Linked DNA regions of Homo sapiens: region 2 is linked to region 1. Evidence: promoter capture Hi-C in human tissues and cell types (Jung and others, 2019). All regions are on one chromosome and are shown on one strand. Each heading gives the region's core, a stretch centred on a gene start or on the middle of the fragment in contact. The rest is flanking DNA. Distances are from core to core; before and after follow the strand shown.

Region 1 (7,291 bases), core at 408-2,907:
TTCAAATAGTCCAGTGTCCTCATGTTACAGAAGTAAGAACTGAGTCCCCCTTTCCCAGAGTCACAGAGTTGGTTAGTAGCAGCTAGAAGCCAGGTCTTCCAAATCCCAGATCCATGTTCTTCCTGCTTCATCAAGAACTATATCTACTTGAAATGCCTTCACCTTGTAAAATACATATTTTTATGATGCCTCATGATAGCGACATCAATTTCCCTTAATTCTGAAATTAACTATTTTCAGGAAATCTCATTTAAACAAAAACATAGTGCATCATTCAACATTCATCATTTAGGACTGTGATTTGCCAATACAACCCAAAAAGTCAATTCTGGAAAGCCAACACAGACTCCGCATACTGGTCACAGCAAATGCTAGTTGAGCCCTTTCAGTTCTAACTAAAAGTAATACAACCTTTTAAAATGTGAGTGGCTGGAAAAAAATGCTTTGAGAAAAAAATTTTAAAACAAGGTTAAATGCTGCATTTTCAAAGTACTGTTTGTATTAAGAGTTAATTCAAGTTTAGTTTTCAGATATTTTTAGACTTGAGAAGCTTTTACAGCCTGTAAGTAACTCACAAGTTGTACGCTATAGAGATAGCAAAAAGTGAAATATGAACTTTAAACCACTTCCATTTTTCGATTGATCCCTCCCCTTCCCCCAATACCTACATACATTTACCCTAAAAAGCATCGCTATCTCTAGTTCCACAGCCTCTTTCTCAAGGTCCAGAACCAAGGCCTGGAAGATGTCAACAATATAGGCCTTCCCCATAGGAATCCGCACCGATTATGGGAGTTTAGGGGTGTTCTTCATTACGGTTTCACCAGTCCTACAAGGAGAACGGAAGTGTCCCTGTTGCTCTTGACTCCGACGCTGAGGGCCAGGGGTGGGAGTGTAATGAGAGTGGGGAATGGGTGTAGGATACCGGAATAAGGTCGGTGGCTTTCTGTATGTGGAGTTTGAGACAAGCTCCAAAGTACCGGGACCCTGGAGAGGAATGAGAGTAGGTAAATTCAGCGCCCGGCACTCAGTCTGATTGATTTAGGCAGTGAGGGTCCGCTCAACTAGAGAAACTGTTGCCCCGAAGAAAGCAATCTAGTGTCAGTTCTCTCTTCGGGATTCGGGGGAACAGTCGGTTTTCGGGGCTGCTCCGGGCTCCTCGAGATTAGCGAACACCGGATGTGGGGGAGGGGAGGAAGGTTGGCTGGGAAAGGAGCAGGCGCCGTGGGGGTGGGGTGAACGGGGTGGGGGTGGGGAGGATGGGAAAAGTGAGCGGGAGCCTGGGGCTCCCAGCCAGCCCCGGCGAGGGCCGCGACCGGGAGGTGGGGGGGAGGGGTCGTTACGGCGAAGCTGAAGGATCCGCTCTGACTTCCCGGGATAGGCCGCGACCCAGGGGCGAGGGGAGGCCGCTGCCACTCCCCTCGCCCTCTCCCCCACCTCCCCGGCCCCAAGCCACCCGGGAATCAAAAAAACGGGTCTAGTTACCAGAGAACAGAAACTTTACCGAACCGATGACACTATCCCCGACTCCCGCTTGCTGCCACGTCTTTCTTCTTGCTTGGCCGCTGCCGTCCGTCGTCCTCCCAGCAGCAGCAGCACTAGCAGAAAACCAAGACTGCCAGCGTCAAAGATGGCGCCTGGCTACAGGCTCCGCTCTAAGGCCCGGCCGGTAAAAGTGCCAGCACGACGCAGGGCGCGAGGATTCTGGAAGATGTAGTTCCTCTATGAGGCGATGCCTAAGATGGCTGCTCCGGGTCACAGGGTCACGTGACGGGGGAGGCGCTGGGTCGGGGAGTCCCTTCCCTTCAGAGGAATGCCTCGAAGCCGGCTTTCATAACGTTTTGTTTTTGTTTTTAAATCAAATGAGGTAATAAGCGGGAGGGCCGCAGGAACTGAGACTGCCATTCAGTAAGCGCTCAATTTATTCTTACCAAAGTGTTTGCTTAATGAGTAAATCTCCCAAACCATGTATACATTTAATTTAGAAATAAACTGTACTTTTCCTAAGCATGCAATGTAGAATGATTTGTTAGTTTATTTTTTACTTGAAGAAGTGAGATTGGGCTTTGGGGGGGTGTTTCTTTGATTTCTTAAAGCAAATTTGTGTATTGGAAAAGTAATTCATGCTCGTGACAAAATTCAGGAGAGTTAGTTGGAGGTCGCAATCAGCAGTCTCATCCCTGCTTCATTATTAACATTGTCCCTTATTTTCCCTTTTGAATGTTTTTACTTTTTCCCCCGGTTATAAAAGTAATACACGTGGCCGGTGCGGTGGCTCACGACTGTAATTCCAGCACTTTGGGAGGCCTCGGCAGGCGGATCACAAGGTCAAGAGATCGAGACCATCCTGGTCAACATGGTGAAACCTCATCTTTACCAAAAATACAAAAATTAGCTAGGCGTGGTGGCACGCGCCTGTAGTCCCAACTACTCGAGAGGCTGAGGCAGGAGAATCGCTTGAATCTGGGAGGCAGAGGTTGCATTGAGCTGACATCGCACCACTGCACTCCAACCTGGCGACAGAGTAAGACTCCATCTCAAAAAAAAAAAAAAAAAAAAAAAGTAAAAAACTTAATACACGTAAGTTTTTTTAGAAACAATACAGAAATATAGAGAGTAGAAAGTTAAAATCTCTATTAATCTCATTCTTGAGAAATAGCTCTCATTAACTTACCATATATCCTTTCTGGCTTTTACACTGAAAATATACTTAAATATATTACACATATAATAGGAGCCCAAGGTCCCCCTGGGGTAGTGGCTCAGCAGAACTCTAATTAGGTGGCAACATTTTACCTAACTTGGGTAAAGGATATAGTTGTGCTACTAAGAAAGGAAACACTTGATGATAAAGCAGATGGGACTTCAGGCACCTTTTATTTCCTCGTGTGCTTGTTCTTCCAGCTGCCGGGTTGGTGATGTGCGAGTCCCAGGCAGCCCAAGACTAGGAATTTATCAGAGCAGAGGGGTCCTGAGCCTCCTCATATCTGGGCTTTTATCTCCTTTCAAAGTAAGAACCACAACTTTAGAATCTTAGCTCCAATCTCTGCCTTACGTGACAGTGCTCTGGCATTGCCATGTCAACAGACCTAATAAGCAAGTTCCTGGTAGCCAATTTCTTTTTTTCTTTCTTTTTCTTTTTCTTTTGTTTTGGTCTTCATTTTTTTGGTCTGTGTGACTCTTACTGGTAACCAATTTCTGTCTGTGCCACGACACCTAGGGTTTTTAAAATTTACCAGAGGGCTCTCCACATAGCTTAAGGGTTTTCCAACCTAGGACTCTCCAAGATGCAGTCCTGGCCTGACTAGTGTGCTATATAGAGTTTATAGTTATATTTCAGTAAACCTAAAGTATCATTGATTGTAAGATACACTTTTATTTTACAAGCCTCTAAGTGGAAGAAAAAAACCAACAACTGCCAATTAAACTGACAGGCCGGCCGGGCAGGGTGGCTCACACCTCTAATCCCAGCACTTTGGGAGGTTGTGGCGGGCGAACCACAAGGTCAGGAGTTCGAGACTAGCCTGGCCAACATGGTGAAATCCTGCCTCTACTAAAAATACAAAAATTAGCCCAGCACAGTGGCACGCATCTGTAATCCCAGCTACTTGGAGGCTGAGGCAAGAGAATTGCTTGATCCTGGGAGGTGGAGGTTGCAGTGAGCCAAGATCACGCCATTGCACTCCAGCCTAGGTGACAGGCTAGGAAAGGATGTACATCTTAGAATGAATGAAAATATGAACAGGCTAAAACTATACATACCGTTTTGCAATTTGCTTTTTTCACTTTACAATATATCTTGAATATCTTTTAATGGTCATCAGCACTTAGAGGCCTACCATATTCTTTTTTTTTTTTTTTTTTTTGAGACAGAGTTTCACTCTTGTTTCCCAAGCTGGAGTGCAATGGCACAATCTCGGCTCAATGCAACCTCCGCCTTCCGGGTTCAAGCTATTCTTCTGCCTCAGCCTCCTGAGTAGCTGGGATTACAGGAATGCACCACCACGCCAGGCTAATTTTGTATTTTTAGTAGAGACGGGGTTTCTCCATGTTGGCCAGGCTGGTCTGGAACTCCTAACCTCAGGTAATCTGCCCACGTCGGCCTACATTCTTTTTAATAGCTCCCATCCCGCTCTCTGTAAGCCTCTTTTTACAATTTATTTCACCAGTCCCTTATTGATGGAAACAATCATGTTTCATTTTCCATTAGTATCTCTCAAGGGGGGGAAAGAAAAAATAATAGGGTAATAAGGACATTGAAGAGGGCAAGCTGGGCAGGGGCTCACGCCTGTAATCCCAGCACTTTGGGAGGCCCAGGCCAGCAGATCACTAGAGGTCAGGAGGTGAAGACCAGCCTGGCCAACGTGGCGAAAGCCTGTCTCTACTAAAAATACAAAATTAGCCGGGTGTGGTGGCACCCGCCTGTAATCCCAGCTACTCAGGAGTCTGAGGCAGGGAAGCACCTGAACCCAGGAGGCAGAGTTTGCAGTGAGCCAAGATTGCACCACTGCACTCCAACCTGGGCAACAGAGAGAGAACCTGTCTCACAGAAAAAAAAAAAAAAAAAGGCAGGAGAAAAAGCCTAAGGCTGTTGCAGAGAGAGAAAACTAGTTGGGAAACCCTCTAAGAGTCAGGAGAGTGCACATGCCAACCTTCCCCACCCCCCCATATATACACACAGAATTCTCAGGGGTGGGGCTGGGCTTGCCCTTTGTATGTTATAAGTGGGGGTGAAGTATCTAAACCAAGGACACAATGCCAGATTCCCCCTATTCATACTGCCCTTCAAATTCTAAATGGATTTTAAACATATCTAGACCTCTTCAGTGAATGACAAAACCTTTTGGGACGTTCAGTGTGTTTTTGCTTTGAGAGCAAAAGTTTGGGGAAAAAATGCAAAATTATTGAGACAAAATTAGGTTCAAGAGAATCTTTATTTAGACTAGAAAAGGAAATCACAACAAATTACACATTAAAAAAAAAAAAAAAACTGTGGCTGGGCACAGTGCCTCATGCCAGTAATCCCAGCACTATGGGAGGCCCAGGCCAGTGGATCACTTGAGCCCAGGAATTCAAGACCAGCCTGGGCAACATGGTAAAACCCCATGTCTACTAAAAATACAAAAATTAGCTGGATGTTGTGGCGTGCACCTGTAATCCCAGCTATTTGGGAGGCTGAGGCAGCAGAATCCCTTGAACCCGGGAGGTGGAGATTACAGTGAGCTGAGATTGTGTACCACTGCACTTCAGCCTGGGCGACAGAGTGAGACTCAGTCAAAAAAAAAAAAAAGAAAGAAAAAAAAATATATATGTATGATTATTGTCAAATTTGGTACAGCTTCTATCAAGTTTCTTAGATATATATAAGCACTAAGACTTTATTGAATTATTTAATACCCTCTTGGCCAGGCAAGAGCTACCATTTTTACTAAATCTATTATTTATTGCTATGTAAAAAATCACCCAAAAATGTAGTGGCTTAAGGAACAAACATTTGTTATTTCACGTGTCTGTGGGTCAGGAATTCAGAAGCAGTTTGGCTGGATGGTTCTGACTCAGAGTCTCTAATGAGTTTGCAATCAAGTTGGCCAGGACTGCAGTCATCTGAAGGCTTGACTGGGGCTAGAAGATACATTTCCAAGTCAACTCATATAGCTGTTAACAGGAGATGAGACCTCAGTTTCTCACTCTGAGGGCCTCTCCGTAGGGCTGCTCAGGATATAGGCAACAAGCTTCTCCCAGAGTGAATGACGAGAGAAATAGTAAAGATAGACACTATAAGCTGCAATGCCTTTTATGACCTAGCCTTGGGCATTACATACCACCATTTCTTCTGTATTCTATTGATCACACAGATTAACACTGGCATTATGTGGGAGGGGACTAAGCAAGGGCATGGTAACAGGAGCCAGGGATCATTGGGGTCTTTCTTGGAGGCTTGCTACCATGCCAGCTGTTAGTGATAACTGACTCGTCCATTTAAAATTTTAGATATGGCCAGGCACAGCGACTCATGCCTGTAATCCCAGCACTTTGGGAGGCCGAGGCGGGCAGATCACCTGATCAGGAGTTCAAGGCCAGCCTGCCAAACATGGTGAAACCCCGTCTCTACTAAAAATACAAAAATTAGCCGGGCGTAGTGGCATGCGCCTGTAATCCCAGCTACCTAGGAGGCTGAGGCAGGAGAATCGCTGGAACCCGGGAGGCAGAGGTTGCAGTGAGCCAAGATCATGCCACTGCACTCCAGCCTGAGCAACAGAGCAAGACTCCATCTGAAAAAAAAAAATAAAAAAAAAATAAAATTTTAGATGTGTGGCCAGGTGCAGTGGCTCACACCTGTATTCCCAGCACTTTGGGAGGCCAAAGCAGGTGGATCACCTGAGATCAGGAGTTCAAGACCAGCCTGGCCAACATGGTGAAACCCCCTCTCTACTAAAAATACAAAAATCAGCCAGGTGTGGTGGCATGCATCTGTAGTCCCAGCTACTTGGGAGGCTGAGGCAGGAGAATCACTCGAACCCAGGAGGCAGAGGTTGCTTGAACCCAGGAGGCAGAGGTTGCGGTAAGCCCAAGTTGCGCCACTGCACTGCAGCCTGGGCGACAGAGCGAGACTCCATCTCAAAAAAAAAAAAAATTTTAGACGTGTGAAGAATTTTCCACAGACTAGCCTCTGATGCCATATGTTTCAAACCTTGTCACCCCTCAATGATTTACATTCTTCCAGTGCCAGATGCTGTAGGGCAGGTTTAAAACAAAATGTGACCTCTGGCCCTACAACATTGGGTCATAATGCTAGATGAGTCACTACAGTGGGCAACAGGGGTATTCTTGAAAACTATTTCTAGCCCCATGAAAGTGACTGTAAATCACATAAATATAACCCAAAATAATTGCATCCCAACCCCCTTTTAGCCAGATCCCAAAATGCCCAATAAGGGGAAGGTACTAGAAAGGACAGCTGAGTGAAAAGAAACAGGGCTTTTAACCATTGTCATTAAAATCTTACTTTTGCAAGTTTTAGAATGACTGCATTGCTAAGGCCCTGTCCAGAGCCTTGAAGGGAGCTTGTGAAAGAAAGGGTACCTGAAGGTTAAGCTTCATTATTTGCATAGCAGATCGGTAGTAGGATGTGTTGACTCTCATATAATCTGGATTCAAATGCTGACCCAGCCTTCACCCTGAGGCTCTAGTCCACCCTGCGGGCTTTACAAACTGAGGGTAGCCCTGTGTCTGTACTACCCGACATGAGAGATTGGAGTGGGAGAGAAACCACCATGTGAGTAGCTAGTCC
Region 2 (7,291 bases), core at 2,533-5,032, 600 kb before region 1:
TTGTTTTTTTGAGATGGTCTTGCTCTGTCCTCCAGGCTGCAGTGCATTGGTGCGATCTTGGCTCACTGTAGCCTCAACAGCCTCAACCTCCCAGGCTCAAGCGATTCTCCCACCTCAGCCTTCTGAGTAGCTGGGACTCCAGGTGCACACCACCGCACTCAGCTAATTTTTCTGTTTTTTGTAGAGATGGGGTTTTGCCATGTTGTCCAGGCTGAGACCTCAGAAATTTAGATAGTTACTCAGATTTGGGAATTTGGTGTTCTCTGGCATATTGTCATTTGGAGACTTCATTTGGACTCTATTCTCTGTACCTTTTTAAAATAAAAATGGGAAATTTTCATTTTTTTCTCATAATGCACGTTGTTTATAAAAGCATCTAATACAGAGATGTACAAAGACATTTTTGGTACATTAAAAAATAATGCTTCCCAGGGTACCTTTCTGAGCTGAGAGACTTAATTTCCTTTTATCTGTAAAAAGAGGTTTTGAGAGTTATTTAATGATACACAGGTTAGCTATTTGGAATCTTTCCTTATGAACTTAGTTGAATGTTTTGTGATCAACACAAAACACCAATCTTTTCCTTCCTGGATGTGCTCCAGCGAGACTTAAGTCTGTGTTGGCAGCATGCTATTGAGATCTATAATAATCGGTATCATAAAGAGGATACGTAAATCTCTTCTAACCCTGCTGACTTTGAGGATTCATCAAGCAGGACCTATGATGCTTTCAACCAATATGTTTCAGTGACAGGTTTGACATCAGGGAATTTAAAGAGAACTAACTCATTCTACACATGGAACGGAGAAGGCAGTTGAGAGTAGGAGTTATGTATTACCATGTAAGCAATTTGAGTTACATCAGTGTTTCACCACTGGCAGACGCCTTAATCTTATCAGAGAGAGACAGGGGAAACTAGGTTTGTGGAAAGTAGGTTGCTTGACCCATGGGGAGGATACCCTAGAGATCTAATGAGCCTGAGAGCCGCAAGGCCTGGAAAGCTGTACAACAAGGGAAGCAGCTTTGGAACAATTTTTCAGGTTTTGTTCTTGTAATCTTTTATACTTCCCCCTTTATCTCAGTAATATCCTTTATGTTTCCTCCTGCCTTTATTTGCTGAATATTTTATTTTCACTACTGTTTTATAGATCCCTACCAAGAAGAAGGATGAAGAACTTAATAGCAAAAGAAGAGCACAATTGCCAGAGATGCGAGAAGAAAGGACCTCACACGGTTCTTGACTTTTCTACAGAGCTCACTGCACATTTTCCCACTAAAATGTTGGGTAAATATTTATACTTAAGATTGGATTGGCCAGGGGTGGTGGCTCATGCCTGTAATCCCAGCACTTTGGGAGGCCAAGGTGGGAGGATCTCTTGAGCCCAGGAGTTCAAGACCAGTGTGGGCAACATGGCAAAACCATCTCTACAAAAAATACAAAAAAAAAAAAAGAAAAAGAAATTAGCTGGGCAAGGTAGTGCATGCCTGTAGTCCCACCTACTTGGGAGGCTGAGTTGGGAGCTGTGATTGAATCACTGCACTGCAGCCTGCACGACAAAGTGAGACCCTGTCTCAAAAATGTTGAAAATAAAAAAGATGGATTAACTTTCAGAAACATTCCAAGGATATTCAGGGTCAAAGAAAGAGGTGATAGTAAATGCTGCTTTGAGTTAAGCCTTCTTTTCTTTTTTTTTTTTTTTTGAGACAGTGTCTCACTGTCACCCAGGCTCTGAAGTACAGTGGCATGATCACAGCTCACTGCAGCCTCGACTTCCCAGGCTTAGGCAATCCTCCTATCTCAGCCTCTCGAGTAGCTGGGACCATAGGTGTGCACCACTTTGCTCACCTATTTTTTGTAGAGACAGGGTCTCACTATGTTGCCCGGGCTGGTCTCAAACTACTGAACTCAAGCAAGTAGCCCACCTTGGCCTCCCAAAGTGCTGGGATTACAGGCATGAGTCGTCAGGTCCAGCCATACCTCCTTTTCTTAATGGGCTCTGAAGGCAAAAACCAGAGGAGTCCCAGGGGTTTTGAAAAAGACTTATCTGGATATATGTTCTGAAGTGGGTGTTTTTAAGACCGCATTTTATCATGAAAGACTAGTTCCTCTTTGGATCTCAAATAATCACCTCAAAGAGCCCTCTGATCACTCTATCCCCCAACCCCTCCTTTTTCTCTCACAGTACCTTTTAAAATTATGTTCACTCTGCCCTCATCTTGTTAACATTTTTACTTGTTTCTCATCTACCACCACCCTCACTAGTCTGTAAACTCCATGAGAACAGGGATCTTGTCGTTTATGAGTCCAGAGCCTAGAACTGTGTCTGGTATGCTATAGTCAATAAATATTTGTTGAATAACAACTTTTTTTTTTTTTTTTGAGACAGGGTTCCACTCCCATCACCCAGACTGGAGTGCAATGGTGCAATCTTGGTGCTGAACCTCCGCCTCCCAGGCTCCAGCGATTCTCCTGCCTTAGCCTCCTAAGTAGCTGGGACTACAGGCAGATGCCATCACACCCAGCTAACTTTAATTTTTTTGTAGAGATGGGGTTTCACCATGTTGCCCAGGCTGGTCTCGAACTCTTGGGCTCATGAGCTGCCTGCCTTGGCCTCCCAAAATGCTGGGATTATAGGCGTGAGCCACCACGCCTGGACTCTTTTTTTTAATATATATAAATAGAGATGGGGTCTGGCTATGTTGCCCATATAGCAACTCCTGGCCTCAAGCAGTCCTCCTGCCTTGGCCTCCCAAAGTGCTGGGATTACATGTGTGAGCCACTGGGCCTGGCCAAGTTAATAGCTTTCCCAAAGTCACCTCTCTTATCAGCTTTATTGAAGTTTCATCCACACAGCCTTGTCTGACCAGAAACAAGTGTGCCACAATCATCAGATGATGTAGAATCACAGAATTTAAATGTCCTTAGAGAAAAGCTACCGTAAGCTTTAACTAAATTTGTAGAAAGTAATTACAAATTTCAATTTGGCTAGGTATACCACATCCATTAATTCTAGTGTCATTATTAATATAAGACACATTGTTAATTTATGAATTTAATATGCGAGCAAATCAACTGAGACCCTCCTTTCCCAGAATTAATAGGCTGCATTGGAGTACCAGAGTATTCTTGCCACCACACCAGGGGTTTTAGCTCTTTGGCAGAAGATTGGCTTTGGGTTTCTAGTGATGCTCTGTTGTCTCCACCAGATGGCGTTATCTTCCATCTGGGAGTGCCTGATGGACACCTGTTATTACAGATCTGGTTGCTATTGCTCCCCTGGAGGTGGGTCCCTCAATGTGTAAACAAGCTGGAAAACTGCCCTGCCCTGCCCATTCCAGGCCTGCCTGGCCCAGTGTGACTCCACCTTTTTGTGGTAATTACCCAGAAGTAGGGGCTCTTTCTTATAGGAGAACCAAGATTTGTATTTGAACACAAACAAAGGAACTGATTTTTTTTTTGAGTCTTGCTGTCGCCCAGGCCTAGGCTGGAGTACAGTGGCACGGTCATAGCTCACTGCAGCCTCCAACTTTTGGGCTTAAACAATCCTCCCACCTCAGCCTCCCAAGTAGCTAGGACCACAGGCATGCACCACATTGCCTGGCTAATTTTATTATTTTTGTGTGTAGAGATGGGGTCTAATTATATTGCCTAGGCTGGTCTCAAACTCCTGGCTTCAAGAGATCCTACTGCCTGGGGCTCCCAAAGTGTCGCGATTACAGGCATGAGCCACCTCACTTGGCCCTTGTATACTTTTTTATCACTGTTCAAGTCACATTGAATTTTAATTGTGATTTGCTCTTTCCTTTCTTCCTCTGTGGTGGAAGGGTCTGCGCAGTGACCAGAGTATTTTAGACACATGATACACTTTTCTTTAACTCAAGTGGTAATTTCCATAGCCTCTTTTTTCCAACACACAGGCTCCCTCCCGACATAACAAGTAATTTATGAATTCATTTCAAAGAAGCAATTTTGTATGTGAAAAGGTCTATCTTCAATGTTTACATTATTTTGTATTTGTAGTATTTGATTTTTTTTTTTTTGAAAAGCTAGCATTATTAGTGATGACCTGAAACCCAAAGTTTTAAATCAGTTGATGTAAGGTCGTCATGACTACTCTTTCCAGTGGTAGCCTAAGGTTCGCTGAAACATTGTCATCGTTATGAAAGGCACTTCATTATGCAGGATACCATTCATATCCAGTTTTCTAAGATGGTTGAGGACATTGTTTTTTAAACTTTTCTGTTTTTTAAATTGACAAAAATTGTATATGTTTACTGTCTACAACATGATGTTTTGAAATATGTGTACATTGTGGAATGGTAAGTCAAGCTAATTAACATGTATTACCTCACATACTTAGCATTTTTTTTGTGGTAAGAACCCTTAAAATCTACTCTTAGCAATTTCCTTTTTCTATTTATTTATTTATTTGAGACAAGCTGGAGTGCAGTGGTGCAATTTCGCCTCACTGTAACCTCCGCGTCCTGGGCTCAAGCAATTCTCATGTCTCAGCCTCCCAAGTAGCTGGGACTACAGGCGCGTGCCACCACACCCGGCTAATTTTTTGTATTTTAGTAGAGACAGGTTTCACCCCATGTTGCCCAGGGTGGTCTCGTACTCCTGAGCTCAGGTGATCTGCCTGCCTTGGCCTTCCAAAGTGCTGGGATTACAGGCGTGAGCCATCACGCCTGGGCTTTTTATTTATTTATTTTATTTTATTTTATTATTTATTTATGTATTTATTTATTTTGAGACAGAACCTTGCTCTGTTGCCAAGCTGGAGTGCAGTGGCATGATCATGGCTTTCTTCAGCCTCAACCTCCTGGGCTCAGGCAATCCTCTTGCCTCAGTTTCCCGAGTAGCTGGGACCACAGGCTCACACCACCACAACAGGCTAATTTTTAAGTTATCTGTAGGGGCGAGATCTCCCTATATTGCCCAGGCTGGTCTTGAAGTCCTAGGCTTAAGTGTTCCTCCTGCCTCCCAAAGTGTTGAGATTACAGGTGTGAGCCACCTCACCTGGCCAATTTGCAAGAATATAATACATTGTTATTGACTATGGTCACCATGTCGTACAGTAGATCTCTTGAACTTATTCCTCCTCACTGAAAGTTTGTATCCTTTGAGCAACGTCTCCCCAACCCACTTCTTGTTTTTTATTAACTTATTAAAGTATAATTTACAATAAGTTTCACTCATTTTAAGTATGAATTCAATGAGTTTTGATAAACACGTGTAGTCATATAAACACCACCACTATCAAAATATGGATCATTTCCATCACCCAGAAAGTTCCCTTATGTTCTTTTGTATTCGGTCCCCTTCCCAACCTCCAGCTTTTGGCAGCCATTGCTTTTCTTTTCTTTGTCTTTTTTTTTTTTTTTGACAGACAGGGTCTTACTGTCACCCAGGCTGGAGTGTAGTGGTGTGATCACGGCTCACTGCAGCCTTATCTCCCTGGGTTCAGGTGATCCTCCCACCTCAGCCTCCTGAGTAGCTGGGACTACAGCTGTGTGCGACCACACCCAGCTGGTTTTTTGTTTTTTTTTTTTTGTTTTTGTTTTTGCTTTTTTTTTTTTTTTTGTATTTTTAGTAGAGATAAGGTTTTGGCATGTTGCCCAGGCTAGTCTTGAACTTCTGGGCTCAAGAGATCTGCCTGTTTTGGCCTCCCAACATGCTGGGATTGCAGGTGTGAGCCACCACGTCTGGCCTTTGATCTGCTTTCAACACTTTTAGCTCTTCTAGAATTTCAGAAAAATGGTATCGGATGTACAGCATGGACCCTTCTGTGGTGGGCTTCTTTACTGTAATGCTTTTGAGATTCATCTGTGCTGTTGAGTGTCTCTGCAGTCCATTCCTTCTGTTGAGTGTATCAGTAGTCCATTCCTTTTCATGGCTGAGTAGTATTTCATTGTATAATTATACCACTATTTGTTCATTTACTAGATAATAAACAGTTGGCTTGTTTAAGTATGAATTCAATGAGTTTTGATAAATATGTGTAGTTATATAAACATGACTACATATATAAACATATAAACATATACATATATAAGCACATATAAATTTGTGTCTATTATGAATAAAGCTTCTATGAACTGTTGAGTACAAGCGTTTGAGTGGACATATGATTTCATTGCTTTTTGATAAATCCAGGAGTGAGACTGCTGGATCATATGGTAAGTATATATCTAATTATATAAGAAACTCCCAAACAGTTTTCCAAAGTGGCTATACTACTTGGCAGCAGCGTATGAGCTCCAGTTGCTCCACATCCTTGCCAACACTTGATATTGTAAGTCTTTTTAAGTTTAGCTATTCTAGTGGCATCTTATTTTGGTGTAAATTTGCATTTCCTTGGTGTTTAATGATATGGAGCATCTTTCCACATGTTTATTTGCATTGATAAATACCTTCTTCAGTCAAGTGTCTGTTCAAATCTTTTGTCCTTTTTTTTAAGCCAAATTGTTAGTATTTATATGGATTTGTGTATGTGTGTGTGTCTTTAAAAACATATTCTAGATATAAGTCCTTTATATTTTGCAAATATTTCTCCCAGTCTGTGGCTTGCCTTTTTATTTTTTAAATTATGTAATTTGGGGAGCAGAATTTTTTTAATTTTGCAGAAGTTCAGTTTATCAATTTTTTCTTCTATGGTCCATGCTTTTCCAAAGGTCTTAGAAGTTTTTCCCTAACAAAGTCATGAATATTTTTGTTTATGTTTACTTCTAGAAGTTTTGTAGTTTTAGCTCTGACATTTAAGTCTTGTCATTCACTCTGAGTTAACCTTTGTATGTGTTATGAGGGCAAGGGTTAAGCTTCATATTTTTGCACATGGATATTCAATTGTTGAAAAGACTATCCTTTCTCCATTGAGTAATTTTGACATATTTTTCAAATTTCAGTTGACCATGTAGATGGATCTATTTCTGGACCCTGTATTCTGTTTCATTGATCTGTATCTCTGTGCTTACATAAATACCACACTGCCTTGATTACTGTAACTTTATAGTGAGTCTTGAAATTACTTTGTTCTTTTTCAAAATGGTTTTTGTTACTCCAGGCCCTTTGCTTTTTTTTTTTTTGAAAAACAAATCTTTATTGTCTAGAAATACATATTTAAAAAATCCTCTTCAAAAGATGCTATTCACTCATTTCCCCATTTCCTCTTCTTCCACATCTCTGATATAAAGGACATTATTACACCTTATTAAAACTTCACCTAGATGTCCAGGCAATGCCTCATTTATGAATTCTGTATCTGCAAGCTGCATGTTCATATAGCCATCT

The links. Contacts are between HindIII fragments. The study calls those that stand out against the background at their distance.
Region 2: a fragment that was not itself captured here is called in contact with the fragment with the promoter of ZBED6 in region 1 in 1 of the 25 tissues and cell types used here (dorsolateral prefrontal cortex).

Annotation. Positions count from the first base shown.
Region 1 is chr1:203,789,989-203,797,279 of GRCh38, reverse strand. It overlaps ZBED6 (zinc finger BED-type containing 6), which reads right to left and starts at 1,657. Exons shown (of 17, transcript NM_001395895.1): 1 at 1-1,657. It overlaps ZC3H11A (zinc finger CCCH-type containing 11A), which reads right to left and starts at 1,657. Exons shown (of 18, transcript NM_001376342.1): 1 at 1,486-1,657. RefSeq lists enhancers at 1,537-1,956, 7,000-7,169. The HindIII fragment of the contact is 6,581 bases long and covers 1-6,414 here.
Region 2 is chr1:204,394,647-204,401,937 of GRCh38, reverse strand. It overlaps the pseudogene LOC124904489 and a transcript of PPP1R15B not described here. Among named protein-coding and RNA genes, the nearest start is that of PPP1R15B, 14 kb to the left of the region's middle. The HindIII fragment of the contact is 6,586 bases long and covers 490-7,075 here.